5 separate regions of the Homo sapiens genome follow, and regions 1, 2, 4 and 5 are each linked to region 3. Evidence: promoter capture Hi-C in 16 types of primary human blood cells and fetal thymus (Javierre and others, 2016). All regions are on one chromosome and are shown on one strand. Each heading gives the region's core, a stretch centred on a gene start or on the middle of the fragment in contact. The rest is flanking DNA. Distances are from core to core; before and after follow the strand shown. Region 1 has its middle 160 kb from the start of SNTB1. Region 2 has its middle 120 kb from the start of SNTB1. Region 3 holds the start of DEPTOR (DEP domain containing MTOR interacting protein). Region 4 has its middle 100 kb from the start of SNTB1. Region 5 has its middle 140 kb from the start of SNTB1.

Region 1 (2,700 bases), core at 86-2,585, 1.1 Mb before region 3:
GAATACAAGGAATAAATAGGAAGGCCTGCCAAGCTCTTCAGTGTCTAACAAAGAAAATATATTTCATTATGTTGTCTTCTGAGCATATGGGAAATGTTAAAATAAATGAACCCAACAAATACTTGTAAGTCTCATTTCTTTTGCTTCCCTGCCCCCCAACAGAAAACACTCATAAATCATTCATTTTATGTAAAACTAAAATTATTACCTCCTACTTGGCTGCTTCTGACTGTACAAACTGGTCATGTTATGTCCAACTGTTCCCAGCATCAAGAATTCAGCTGGCTCTTGCTCTAATATGTCTTAAGTTCACTAAGTTTATGTTTCTCCCACACCCACTAGACAGAAAAGCTCTTGAGGGCAGGGGCTGACTTCTCTGTAACCTCAGCTCCTCCTTCAGTGCCTGACATACCGTAGGTGCTAATTCAATGGTGAAGGAATGAGTGAGGATTAAATAATTCTTTTACCGTATGCACAGCCAGATTTTCTTTTTCATAATTATCAAATATTCATGAGTAGATTTTTCCTGTTATCAATTTTTTCCCCAAAGACGGCAAAGACTGGGTTGGATGCCTTAGTTAGGCATCCTTTAGTTTTTTTATATCTATGTAACAAACTTCACCTAATACACAAATTTCATCTTTACACAGCTGTAGTGAATATTAAATGGGTTTACACATGTAAAGAGTTTAGCACTTACATGATATGTCCTCAGTAAGCTAAAGATTACTATTATTCATCCATAAGAGGAACTGTAGTGGCTCTGAAGTCAGATTACCTGGATTCCTATCCTAATTCTCCTGTTGCTGCTATGCGATGTGACTTTATCTCTATAGTGGAGAAAAGTACTGCTCATCTCATAATACTGTAGGAGTTTCACATGAGATACTCTGTATGAAAATAATGCAAGAAAATTAAGCACATGCACAGTGCTGGAAACATAGTATGCAAATAATAAATACTAGAAAATAAAAAAAAATGCAAGAAACATGTGTTAATCACTTGCTATATACAAGACACTAGGCTAGCTACTCTGGGGGAAGAGATGTAAGATAAGACCCAGTCCCAAACCTTATGGGGTTTAGATTCTCAGCAGAATCTCAATGTAAAGCTGTCAAGGGAATAGATGATAAAGAGGACAGATAGACTTCCCCTCTGTTGTTCTCCCAGAGCTCTGGGAAAACAACATAACTTTTCTGTCATATAACTGAAAGAAAAGGGATTTATACTGCAGCCATGTAAAAGGACCATCAAATGTCTCCTAACACTTTAACTATTAGATGTTAGTGGTATATAAATAATAAAAATAACAACCTGATTAAGCTGAAAATTTTATATTTGATTTCATTTAATCCTTACAACAAAATTGCAAAATAAGTACCATTACCCACACTTTACAGATGGAAGTTCACAGATGATACATAATTGCCCAGGGTCATATATTAAGTGTGGCTATACCTAACTGCTCTATAAACCCAAAAATGCACACTGGCACTAACACAATAGACGTTCATTTCTTGTCTACTAGGTTGTTGAAGAGGAAGGCAGAGACCTGGCTGCCAGAAGCTCTGTCAATTTCGATATTCTAGCAGAATAAAGAGGAGAAAGAGGATGCAGGAGAGTATCTGGGAGGGTTAAGGAACCAGGCCTGGAAGTGGTGCACATCACTTGTGCAAAGTTTCTGTAATCTAGAACGCAGTCACCTGTACACACTTAACTCCAGGAAGAAATGGGAAATGTGGAATCTGGCTAGGTAGACACTTCTCACGTATAACTCCTTACTGTTGAACAGGAAGCATAAATATCTGTGTATCTTCAGCCCTCTCTAGACGAAATATCTGTGTATCTTCAGCCCTCTCTAGACAAGAAAGTAAGTACCAAAGTCATGAGTGAAACTCAGGTTTATCTGACTACAAAGCTCATGCTTCTAAACAAACACTGGTAACCATAAGAGCTCCTGATGGTCCCAGCACTGCTCCTAAGTGCTGTATATGTTTCAAATCATTTCATCCTCAAAACAACTCTATGAAGAGATAGACTAAGAAAGCACAACCCAGAAGGATTAAGCAGCGTGTTCAGTTCCTTCATGAGAATTACATGAGAGAGTATGTGTGTGATCAGGGCTCACATCACCCCTGTCCCTGATCTTGTTTCCTCTTTTTCTTGTACTCTTTGTTTTATGTTTAATTGACAGATAGTTATTGCATGTATTTATGGAGTACAATGTGGTATTTTGATACATGTATACATTGTGGGATGATAAAATCAGGCTAATCAGCATATCTCTTACCACAAATATTTAATGTATCTTTGTGGTGAAAACATTCAAAATTCTCCTTTTAGCTTTGTTAAAATGTACAGTTTTGACCATTTCCCAGTACTGTTCCAGTTCTGTGTGCAGCCTGAAAGCCAAGTTCTGAGAGCTGCCTGGAAGAATGTCTTCTACCAGTTATCCCAGGAGCAGAACTGAGCTGTCTCCCACAGGATGCCACCAAAGACCCCAAGACATCCTATAGACAGTTATTTTGGCCTGTATGATACCATCACTTGATTTTCTCTCTTTACAGACAGTCCTTAATGTGGGTTATCCAGGAATCCCACAACAAAACATCCCACTGAGAGAAAAAGGTTTTGGCTTTGTACACAAAGATTTAATGTACTTGCAGCTTTTGGAACACAACATTTCTCTTCAAAAGTTTG
Region 2 (2,700 bases), core at 77-2,576, 1.1 Mb before region 3:
GCTGACTTTAGTACTGATTAGTGGGTTTTGGTGATGTCTATCTGATCCCTTCATTGCAGAGTTTCTCATCAGTCTTCACAGTTTTAGCAGCCGTTGATGATCACCTCCTGGATCCATTATTTCATCACAGTTAGCAAAATGGATATTTCCTAATTCTATCAGCCCTCCAGTATTTATTAGTTGGAACTCTTTAATAAAGAACAATTTTTCCTCATCGTTTATCTGAAAACAACAACAAAAGCCAGATTAATGCCTGATTCTTTCCTTTTGTCTTTTTTCAGAATAGTGAGTTAGTGCCCACACAACCTTCAAATGAACTTGTGGATTTTGCATATTTAACATGTTTCAAAACATTGTAGTCACTATTTGCTTTTAAATTATTCGCAAGTTTTCCCAGTGGGAGCTCTTGTATTAGTCCATTCTCACACTACTAATAAAGACATACCTAAAACTGGGTAATTCATAAAAGAAAGAGGTTTAATTGACTCACAGTTCAGCATGGCTGGGGAGGCCTCATCATCATGGCAGAAGGCAAAGGAAGAGCAAAGGCACATCTTAAATTGCAGCAGGCAAGAGAGAAATGAGAGCCAAGTGAAAGGAGAAACCCCTTACGAAACCATCAGATCTCGTAAGACTTAGTCAGTACCATGAGAACAGTATGGGGGAAACTGCCTCTATGATTCAATTATCTCCCACCCAGTCCCTCCGACAACATGTGGGAACTATGGGAGCTACAATTCAAGATGAATTTGGGTGGGGACACAGCCAAACCATATCAGCTCCTTAAGCTGCCTCATATATTTTATGCATTGGGGCATAACAGCATATCTCAGGCTCATCTCAAATACTTCCTGCTCATGCTAGAATCAGCCATTTCTCCAAGGAGACCTGGTTCCTTTAACATGGAAATGGCATGTAGATATCAAATTCTGGGTACTTGGAGTGATTATTGCTACTGAACTGATCACAGTTCTAGGCCTTGTCAGTAGACATGACTGAGAAAATTGTAGTTTTAAGAAAAAGAAAAATAAACTATAAATTCATACCAATATTTCTAATTCAAAATAAGGACTACAGAGTTTTTAACGATTTTTTTAAGTTCATCTTTTCTTGCTCTGAAAATTTTATCTCCTAAGGATAATTTAATTGTTTAATTGCTTTATCCTATTTTAGATATAATAAACTCAATAAGAATGTAAATATCACCACTAAAAACTAGCCAACAAAATTCAATCTAAGATGTCTTTGTACTTCTTTTTGTCCTTAGGATATATCTCCCTAAGGACGTACAATCAAAATATGTGTTCTAAAGTCACTTAAAATAAGTCTTGAGATCATTATGCCACAGAATTGATGTATGCCTAAGTTCTTCGTTTTCAGTTTTAAATTTTTAGAAATTGTTATATTTTGATGTGGTTTTCTCTTTTGTTTTTAATCATGTAAAACATTTACATAATTTCAAAGTCAAAAAATAAAATAAAGTATGTGGAGAAGCATAACTCTTCTGTATCCCCTACTCACCTGCTTCCTCCATCCAACTATAGGTAAGCATTTTTTATTGATTTTTGTTTTATCTTGATATTGCAATCATAAACAAATATGTATTTCTTATTTCTTCTCCTTTCCTATCTACACTGTAGTATACTATAAATACAGCTATGCATTTTGCTTATTTTGCTTAACAATATGTCCTGGACATTACTGTATTTCAGGACATACAGATATGTTTCTTTTCAGGGATACATTATATGACATTGTGTAAATATCCCAATTTATTTACCTAATGTCCCTTTGATAGACATTTGGGTTTCTGGCCTTTTGCTAGGTGGTCTTCTACGTTTGTGTTATTTAGTCCTCCCTAGAGTTTTGTCAGTTTGGCTTACTATTCTCATGTTAAAAGGAGGAAACTGGTATATAAGCAGTTAAAGACTTGACCAAAGTCTTAGAATTAAGCAGGGAGAAGGGGAAAGAAGAATTCCCCTGCTTCCATAATTTCTGTTATTTGCACAAGTCCATGTAATTCATACTACATTGAAAATGTCTGTTGACACCTTTATTTTAGAGTTGGAGGAGGGAGAAGTAAGTATGTGCTTTGCAGTAGATTGTGGAGAAAAATTTAGCCTTAAGTTCAAGGCTGGAATTTCAGGCCTGAGCCAGCCTGTGGGGAGGGTGTCTGAGGGAACAGCTGGCCATTCTGGCTTTGTCCCCAGCTAAAGGCCTGCCAGACATCCACAAGCAGGTGTGTCTATTTTGGGCAGAGGGATCTTCTCAGTGTCTGGTAAATCACAACATGTCAATTCTATCACAGCGTGCTCTGAACCCTGGTGCTCCCCTAATAAATTCACCAAAACTCCCTTTGAAGGATAGAGAACAATCCATTCTCTACTGTGCCTCTTAACAGTGACTTCCCTCTTCTTCCTTCTTATCCTACAGACCAGTGAACAATTATATATACCAAACCAAACAAAGCAGCACAGCTTTGGGTCAGTAAAAACCATTTTACATACTTTTTAGAGAAGAAATTAAGTGAGATTTGGAGGAAGCCTTAGGACAATAACCAAAAACTTTCATTAATTTTCCCTTTTTATCCACCCAATGTTTTTAAGGGAAAAGATTAATTCCGAGGGAAAATACACCCCAATCACGTTATTTTAAAATGAGCATCTCAAGCTAAGGCCTCATCTCAGAGCACTTTTAGCC
Region 3 (2,700 bases), core at 27-2,526:
CAGGTCCTGAAACACAGACATTTAGAAACCAAAACAAGCTGGGGAATTCAGGCTAAGAACTAGAAGTAACAGGGGCCCGCGTACAAGTTGTGGCTCAAACGCTGCAGAGCTGGGTTTTCTTTTTCCTGGCAAACTGATTTATAACCACACGAAGGGCAGCTGCAGAACCAGTTAGACCATAAGTACTATTCCCAAACAGCCCTAGAGGAAGGACCATACAGGGATGGGAATGGCAAGGGGGATTCTGGGGGTCGTCCTTGTTCCCAAGTTCCGTGAGACGCCGCAAGTCTTAATTCTTGCAGGAGCCAGGGTCCCCATGGATCCTGCTGCCCAAAACGTGCGAGCCCGGGGAGTTGGCACAGCCTCAAGGCAGCCCGACAAGGTGCCTCCACGCCCCCTTGCGGACCCAAATGATTGAGGACGATGTGCCAATTAACTGATAGGTGCAGGGTTTCAGAAATGCTCTCTCAGTTTAACCTCACAAAAAGCCCTTGAATCAGCCCTGTTTTACAGATGTAAAACACCGAGGCTCAGGGGAGTGAAGGAAGACTTGTCAGCAAAAAGGAAAACCTAGTGAAGACTATCGTTGGTCTTGCTCCTTTTATCAAGGAGTAGAGGGGCTGGGGTCGCCTCGGGACCCCACAGCGACCCCTCTTGCTCTCTTCGCGGATGAGGCGCAGGCTGTCAGCCGGGAGGCCTGGCGGCGTCCAGGTACACGGGAAGACGGACAGCGCGGTGGGTGGCAGGGACTTTGCCCGGCACAGGACTGCAGCAGCCAGGCTAGGGCGCAGCGCGCACCACCCGCTCGTCGGCTTCTGCCAGGCAGCCCCGCTTGGCGAGCGAGTCCTCAGGGACCGAGGCTGCAGCAGCTAAGCGCGGGCGCACCGAGGACCATCCACGCGCCCGCAGCCGTTCCGGCGCCCCACGCGAGTCGCAAGCCACGAGCCAGGGAGCGCGTGCGCGCAGGACTGCAGCGGGCACGCGTTGGCAGTGCCATCGTGAGCTCACCCGCTGTGTCTCTTGCCTTACCGTAGCTGTTCCCCGGTGACCAAGACCTCAGCCATGCGCTCCAGCTCCCTTTGCTGCGCCCCGCCACTCCCGCTGGTGCTGCTGTCACTGCCAGCACTGCCAGTGCTGCCGCCCTCCTCCATGGTTTTAGGGCCGTGCGGCTACCACTGGCTCCGCTGTCCGCCGAGGGTTTGGGTGCTCGGATCAGTCTGCCCTCACAGACGCTTCCCGCGCCATCTTTGTTCGGGGCAGCTCCGCTGCTCTGACTGGATTGGCTGGAGAGGGAATCCCTATGGGTAGGCAGACGCGCTGGGCTAGTCCGGCCCCAGAAACTTGAGCTTGGGGGCGTGGCTAGAGCCCCTCATGGTCGGGGGGCGGGGCCGATGGAGGAAAATATAAACATCTGGGCGGGGCGCTGCTACTGAGCTGTGTGTGCTGCTGGAGGCTGAATTTGGTGAGCTCTCTTTACCCACAAAGCTCATGCTGTAGAATCCTGGGGACAGGCCTGGAGGTTATTAGTGTGAAGGCGTTTTTATTGTACGTTCCACACCCCAAGTTGCCAGAGAGCAAAACATAATTCAACAATCTGGCCAAATGGTCAACAGTGAAGGTTATACATGTCATTGAAGGGCATGGAGAAATTAAACATTCTTCTCTCCCCAACCTCTCTCTCCAAAGACGACTTGTTTGCCTTATGTTGTAATCAATAAGGAACGCCGGCCTAGGAATCAGGCTGACCTGGGATCCAGCTCCGCTCCTGTGATGTCCTATTTAAATGTGTTTAATCCTCCCTTACAAAATAAAAATAATTGCGGCTACCACTTTTGACATCTGCTGCATTAAAGATACTTCAGGTATGGTATTACCTCGTTTAATTATTACAATAATTCATAAAATAGGTATTGGTGTTCGTTTTGCATTAGAATGCAGGCTTGGAGAGGTGAAGTTACTTGTCTAAGGCAAGCAAATAATAAGTATAAGAAGAGCCGGGCACCGTGGCTCATGCCTGTAATCCCAGCACTTTGGGAGGCCGAGGCGGGCAGATCACCTGAGGTCAGGAGTTCCAGACCAGCCTGACCAACATGAAGAAACCCCGTCTCTACTAAAAATACAAAATTAGCCGGGCGTGGTGGTGCATGCCTGTAATCCTAGCTACTTCGGAGGCTGAGGCAGGAGAATCGCTCGAACCCGGGAGGCGGAGGTTGCTGTAAGCCGAGTTCGGGTGAGCGGAGTTAGTGCCATTGCATTCCAGCCTGGGCAACAAGAGCGAGACTCCGTCTCAAATCATCATAATAATAATAAGAAGAAATCTAACCGAGGCAATTCTGGCTTCAAAGTTATGCTTTGAAAAGACTGAAAGACTGCCTCTTAAAATGGGGATACAATGGTATTGTCTATCCGTAAAAGATTATGAAAAGAAATTTGATTAGTACCAAATAAATGTTCTGATTTTCTGTTTCATGCAGAGTCGGAGTTGGTCTGCAGGAAGGCGAAGTAATGTTTATGGCAGTATTCATGTGTGTTGAGCATTTATTCTGTGCTTTACATTGTGCCAAACACTTTATCCTCACAAAACCCTGGAGTTTGGTATTATTTTCAACTTACAAATGAGAAAGCTTAAGTATAGAAAGATGAAGTAATCTGCCTAGAAAGTTAGGTAGCCCTTAAACCCTGGCCATACTCAGCCCCACT
Region 4 (2,700 bases), core at 117-2,616, 1.0 Mb before region 3:
TTTACAGGGAATAGCCATCCCGCAAGCAGCAGCTCAAGTCCTGAGTTTCCATCACCTCTTACCTCAAGCAGTTATCATGGATGAACAAACAGGATTGCAAACTCACAAGGTAGAGAGTCTGATTTGTTCAACTTGGCTGAGGTATCTCACGCTTATCCAATCAGCAGGAGGGGGCAGGGTCACATGTTCACCGGAGCCCATCAGTGAAGAAAAAGGGGTTTACTGCAAATATATGTATTAGACCACAGATTGCTGCACTCACCAGCATCTTTGAAATTACAAGATTCCCAGACATACTCAGATTTACCTGGGTCACTGAGTTTTATTGTAAAGATAAAACGGGACAAAAAAAAATAAAATAAAATAAACCCTGAAGCTGACTTAATAGGCTTGGAGCCAGGTCTTACAGAAAAAGAAGTTTATTCAGAAAACAGCAGTAGCACCAACATCTACTACACACAGCAAAAGTTCTGGCCACTTGGTCCTGTGATTAACCTGGCAACAGTTATCCAATTGGAATGTTCTGCCATTAAATGTTTCTTGATGAGTCCATGGCTCTGCTTCTACTTCTATTACTATGACTTAACTCTCTCTGTATCTTCTGTTCCAGTTCCCTAAGAGCAAGGACTTGTTGGAACAGTTGCCCTGTGGTTTTAGGCTTCCCTATTGAGGAGAATGCTTCTCAAGGTCTCCAGGGATAACCTAAAGAGGGTTGCCATTGCTCCAGTTCCATTTTTTCTCCAATCTGCTGAAGGCAACACAGTGGCGCTTTGAATAAAGGACTCAAGCTTTGTGCAAGGTGACTATTGCCAACAGGAGTCTAGAACTGGCCACAAATATATTTAGTTTGACTTGCACAACATTGGCTCACACAGTACTTATTTAAGTTTAATGTTTAAGCATGAATGATTTTTGAATAGGGAAATTTCACATAAAAACTCAGATTTCCAGCTTTCCTTGAAAAATTAGAAAGCCAAGAAACACTAGCCACAGTCAACAGATACTGAGTACTATATGAGCCATTAAAAAGCACCTGAGCTCTTCACCAGAGTCCCTACGTCGGGCTCCTGTCAAAGAGTTTCACTCACTTACCTGACCCTTGTGGGCACTGGAGTTGGAGAATGCTAAGGTAAGGAGTTATGTGCAGTTACTTTAATCAAAAGGGAGTTTATGGGGAGGCAGCCACTTGAAGAGTCACCACCTATAGTACTTCACCAATTGTAGATTCAGAAACTATGGCCAGTGTGATTTCATCACTGCTGGCAGCTCCTAGAGCAACTTTGAGACAGCCTCTCAATGCTGCTAGCTAGAGTCCCTGCAAGCTGCTGCCTAAACAGCAATTGATCCTTTACTTATCCTCATAGCTTAACCCAGATGTGACCTAAGCATTTTAAAAAAGAGGCAAGGATAGAGGAAGGAAGGCCTTCTAGCACATTGGCCCAATCCCATGTCACATCTTAGAGTTCATTCTTCTCTGCTCTAATAATGCCTATTACAAAACACAGTAATAATGGCATATCCTTGCCAAACTGCATGCTTCTTCTGGTTATCAGATGACCCAGAGGGGTAGATACACCTCATGCTGGTAAAATTGGACACTCACATTTGTTGTACTAGTACGTTCATGCTTCTCTCTTGAGACGAGATGCCACACAATGTAAGGTAAAAATCATTGTTTTACAGGCCAAATTGGTGTCTACCTATCTACCAGCCATATGATCCTGGGAAAGTCACTTAATCTGTTCCTGCTTCAATTTCTTTATCCACAAAATGTTGATAATATGTGTTTCAGTGGATACCCTGAGGATGAAACACAATGAAGGTGTACACTTACTTCTTCACCCCTTTAGGGAATGAAACAATCTCAAACTCAGCTGTTTTAATATTTAAATTAAAATAACCTCTCTCACCCCAGCCCTCATATTGTCATCATGAGAAGCTTCTTCTTGCCTTATTCAGGTTCCCATCCCCCCGAAGGCCTTCTGTAATGCAAGTGCTTTGTCCTGGTTTTCCAGAGAGAAGATCTGATCAGTCCTACCAGTGGCTGCATTTTTTCAAACCTGCTGCAGCTGTCAATGTCTTAAGGTGAAAGCCACGTGGCCTCAGTGGTGAACTCATTACCAAAGCATCCCACCATGCTGCCACATGCCCCTAAACTATGAAACCCAGGAGGCCCCGGAGCCTGCAGGCTGTGCCCAGCTTAGTGCAGCTGCTGTGGTCAGCAAACACACATCATGAAAGCAGGGAGAGGCCCTGTGGGTCCAGGAGGTAAATACCACTATGGAAGCATCATCCTCTGCCCCCACCTCATGGTTCAGCTTCTGATTTTACAGATTTTCAAGCTACCCAGCTCCTTTAACAGACACTTACAATCATCCACTTTCACAAATCACACACCCAATCCAACAAAGCCGAGTTTAAAAATGTTTCCCAACTCAAAGCACACGGTGGCAGAACCATTCTCATGGGACAAAACGCCAAGGCCCCCAAAGGTGGAGAATGCCCCTCCGCTCCTTCTCAACTCCTTCCATCTCCCACCACTGGAGGAGCTTGTTTCCTCCCTGGAAAAACATGGAAACATGAAAAGTCCCTGCCGATGCTCTTCTTCACCCTGCCTTGCAATTAAAGCCTCCCCTGTACCCCTTTTAGGGCCTCATACGTTTTAGACCACCCAATGACTTAGAGACAGGCTAAAATAGG
Region 5 (2,700 bases), core at 74-2,573, 1.1 Mb before region 3:
ATCACTTCATATCTCCAAGCTTTAAAACTTCTGTAAGTCTTACAAAATTAACCTTAAAAGAGGGAAAAATAGTCATTAGCCACATGAATGACCTCAAAAACAATTCAATACCTCCAAGCCTCACAAGTCTTTTGTTTTGTTTCGTTTTTCGTTGAGACGGAGTCTTGCTCTGCCTCCCAGGCTGGAATCAAGCAATTCCTTGCCTCAGCCCCCTGAGTAGCTGGGATTACAGGCGCCCACCACCATGCCCAGCTAATTTTTGTATTTTTAGTAGAGATGGGTTTTCACCATCTTGGCCAGGCTGGTCTTGAACTCCTGACCTCAGGTGATCTGCCCACCTCAGCCTCCCAAAATGCTGGGATTATAGGCGTGAGCCACTGCGCCCAGCCACAACTCTAAAAATCTTACAAAATAGGGCTAGGCACCATGGTTCATACTTGTAATCTCAGCACTTTGGGACGCTGAGGCAAGAAGATTACTTGAGCCCCAGCGTTTGCAGCTACAGTGAGCCATGATCATGCCACTGCACTACAGCCTGGGCAACAGTAAAACCCTGTTTTTAAAAACCATAAAAAAACTTACAAAATTAATCTAGAGAGAGAAAAGAATAGTCAACAGCCACATAACTGACCTCAGAAACAACTTTTACATATTTGATTTTCCTTAGATAAATAAGTATATAGTCTACATTATTGTGCATTCATTAGATTTTAAAGATAACATCAAGGAACATAAAACTCAACCTTATTTTGTTAAACAATAAAGATGTCTACTTTGTTCTATATAATAAACTGCCCAGGTAAAGGTTTAAATATAAGAGAAAAAAAGAAAAGTAGAAAGAGATAGAAACACCAAAAATTCTAAGAAAAAGGCAGAGACAAGCACAACGAAATTAAAAAGTCAAACCCAGAAAAACAAGCATCACAGAACCTGAGCAATACAGTGACTTCTATAGAATAGGAGCACCATCTTGTGGAAGGTAAGGATACTGCAGCTGAAGGCTTCTGATGCCTTACTCCATCTTCTCAACTATGCAACAATTGTAAACAGCAACATCACTTTCTTGGTACTTTTCCAATGAACCAAGTGAAATTAAGTAGAGGAACAAGACCCAATGTATGGACTGCAGGTTCCCCAATTCTTAGAGGAAATAATGGCTCATAGAATGTCTTCAAAACATCACAAATATGAGACACACATGAAAACATTCAGAATAAATCTAAAGGCAATGAAATTATAAGTGAGGCTGTCTTAATCTTAAGTTTTCTGTGACTTGTTTCACTGATCTCAATTAATTAGTGTATTTATTTGAATGTGAATATTTATAGAGTATATGTTATATACCCCAGATACCACTATGGCGGTGTGTGTGTGTGTGTTGCATGATTCCATTTATGTCAAATGTCTAAATAGGAAAATCCATGAGAAAGAAATTAGATTAACGATTTCCTAGGCTTGAGGTTTGGGAGCAAATGGTGGGGATGATGGCTAATTGGTACAGGCTTCCTTTTGGAAGTGTACCCTTTTGGGGGTGATGAAGAGGTCTTAAAATTGATGGCTGCTTGGGAGGCCAAGGCAGGCGGATCACCTGAGGTCAGGAGTTCGAGATCAGCCTGGCCAACGTGGTGAAACCCCATCTCTACTAAAAATACAAAATTTAGCCGGGCATGGTGGCACGTGCCTGTAATCCCAGCTACTCGGGAGACAGAGGCAGGAGAATCACTTAAACCCGGGAGGAGGAGGTTGCAGTGAGCTGAGATCACGCCACTGCATTCCAGCCTGGGTGACAAGACAAAACTCCATCTCAAAAAAAAAAAAAAAAAAAAAAAAAATTGATGGCTGCCATGGTTGCAAAGCTCATGAATGTAGTAAAAGTCACTGGAGTATTCACTTTCAAGGGGTGAATTCTATGGTAAATAAATTATATATAAATAAAGCTATTATCAAAACATGTATTTGTAAAGAAAATGCAGCAGAACTCATTGGGACATTTTTGAATATGTGTAATAAAGATAAAAATTTGCATTGATAAATATTTGTACATCATCCTTGTTAAAATATATGAATAAAATGTGTTCTGTGAAGGATTACCACTATTTGCTTGGTCTCTGTACCACACAGATCAGTCTGTACATATGATATAAAAACAAATTGTAATTTACTCCTACAGTCAAACAAATGTTGTTCTTTGACAGAGTGAACTCAAATCACTTACCTGTTTTGTGAAGCTGCCAGATACCACTTTGGGTGCTGGAGACACACCAGTGAATAATACAAGGGCCCTGGCCTTAAGGAGCTTTTGTTCCAGTGAGAGACAAATGATCAAGAAGCAAGTAATTGTAAAGTGCCATATGATATAAGATGTTATAATGCTAAATAAAGCGGTGTGGCAGACAGGAAGTGTAGGGATGAGGGAGGGGACTGCTGTTTTCTACAGAGTGGATAAATTAGTGAAAACTAAGCAGAGACATGAAATAAGCAAGGGAGTGAGTCATGTGGCTATGGAAGAAGGTAGAACCAAAAGCAGCTAATAAACGAGGTGCTTGGGCTCTGAAATCAGATATACCTGAGCCAGAATCCCAGCTCTGCCATTTACCAACTCTGTTACTTGAGCTCCCTAAGCTTCAATTTCTTCATCTACAAAATGAGACAAATAATGCATTATCCGATGTTGCAAAGGTTAAATGCATATAGAGTGCT

The links. Contacts are between HindIII fragments. The CHiCAGO score rates a contact against its expected background, and 5 or more counts as called.
Region 1: a contact is called between a fragment that was not itself captured here and the fragment with the promoter of DEPTOR in region 3, in 3 of 17 cell types (naive B cells, total B cells and non-activated CD4 T cells). The highest score is 7.8, in naive B cells.
Region 2: a fragment that was not itself captured here is called in contact with the fragment with the promoter of DEPTOR in region 3 in 8 of 17 cell types (naive B cells, total B cells, naive CD8 T cells and 5 more); the score reaches 16.0 in naive B cells.
Region 4: a fragment that was not itself captured here is called in contact with the fragment with the promoter of DEPTOR in region 3 in 4 of 17 cell types (total B cells, fetal thymus, naive B cells and 1 more); the score reaches 8.5 in total B cells.
Region 5: a fragment that was not itself captured here is called in contact with the fragment with the promoter of DEPTOR in region 3 in 9 of 17 cell types (naive B cells, total B cells, naive CD4 T cells and 6 more); the score reaches 18.4 in naive B cells.

The regions. Positions count from the first base shown.
Region 1 is chr8:120,965,904-120,968,603 of GRCh38, reverse strand. No RefSeq gene overlaps it. Among named protein-coding and RNA genes, the nearest start is that of SNTB1, 160 kb to the right of the region's middle. The HindIII fragment of the contact is 3,155 bases long and covers 1-2,700 here.
Region 2 is chr8:120,933,354-120,936,053 of GRCh38, reverse strand. No RefSeq gene overlaps it. Among named protein-coding and RNA genes, the nearest start is that of SNTB1, 120 kb to the right of the region's middle. The HindIII fragment of the contact is 3,249 bases long and covers 1-2,700 here.
Region 3 is chr8:119,872,298-119,874,997 of GRCh38, reverse strand. It overlaps DEPTOR (DEP domain containing MTOR interacting protein), which reads right to left and starts at 1,276. Exons shown (of 9, transcript NM_022783.4): 1 at 1,030-1,276. The coding sequence starts at 1,151. RefSeq lists enhancers at 539-588, 679-778, 413-913, 979-1,238, 914-1,414 and 1 more and a silencer at 1,258-1,430. The HindIII fragment of the contact is 2,864 bases long and covers 1-2,626 here.
Region 4 is chr8:120,913,858-120,916,557 of GRCh38, reverse strand. No RefSeq gene overlaps it. Among named protein-coding and RNA genes, the nearest start is that of SNTB1, 100 kb to the right of the region's middle. The HindIII fragment of the contact is 1,151 bases long and covers 791-1,941 here.
Region 5 is chr8:120,949,644-120,952,343 of GRCh38, reverse strand. No RefSeq gene overlaps it. Among named protein-coding and RNA genes, the nearest start is that of SNTB1, 140 kb to the right of the region's middle. The HindIII fragment of the contact is 2,603 bases long and covers 22-2,624 here.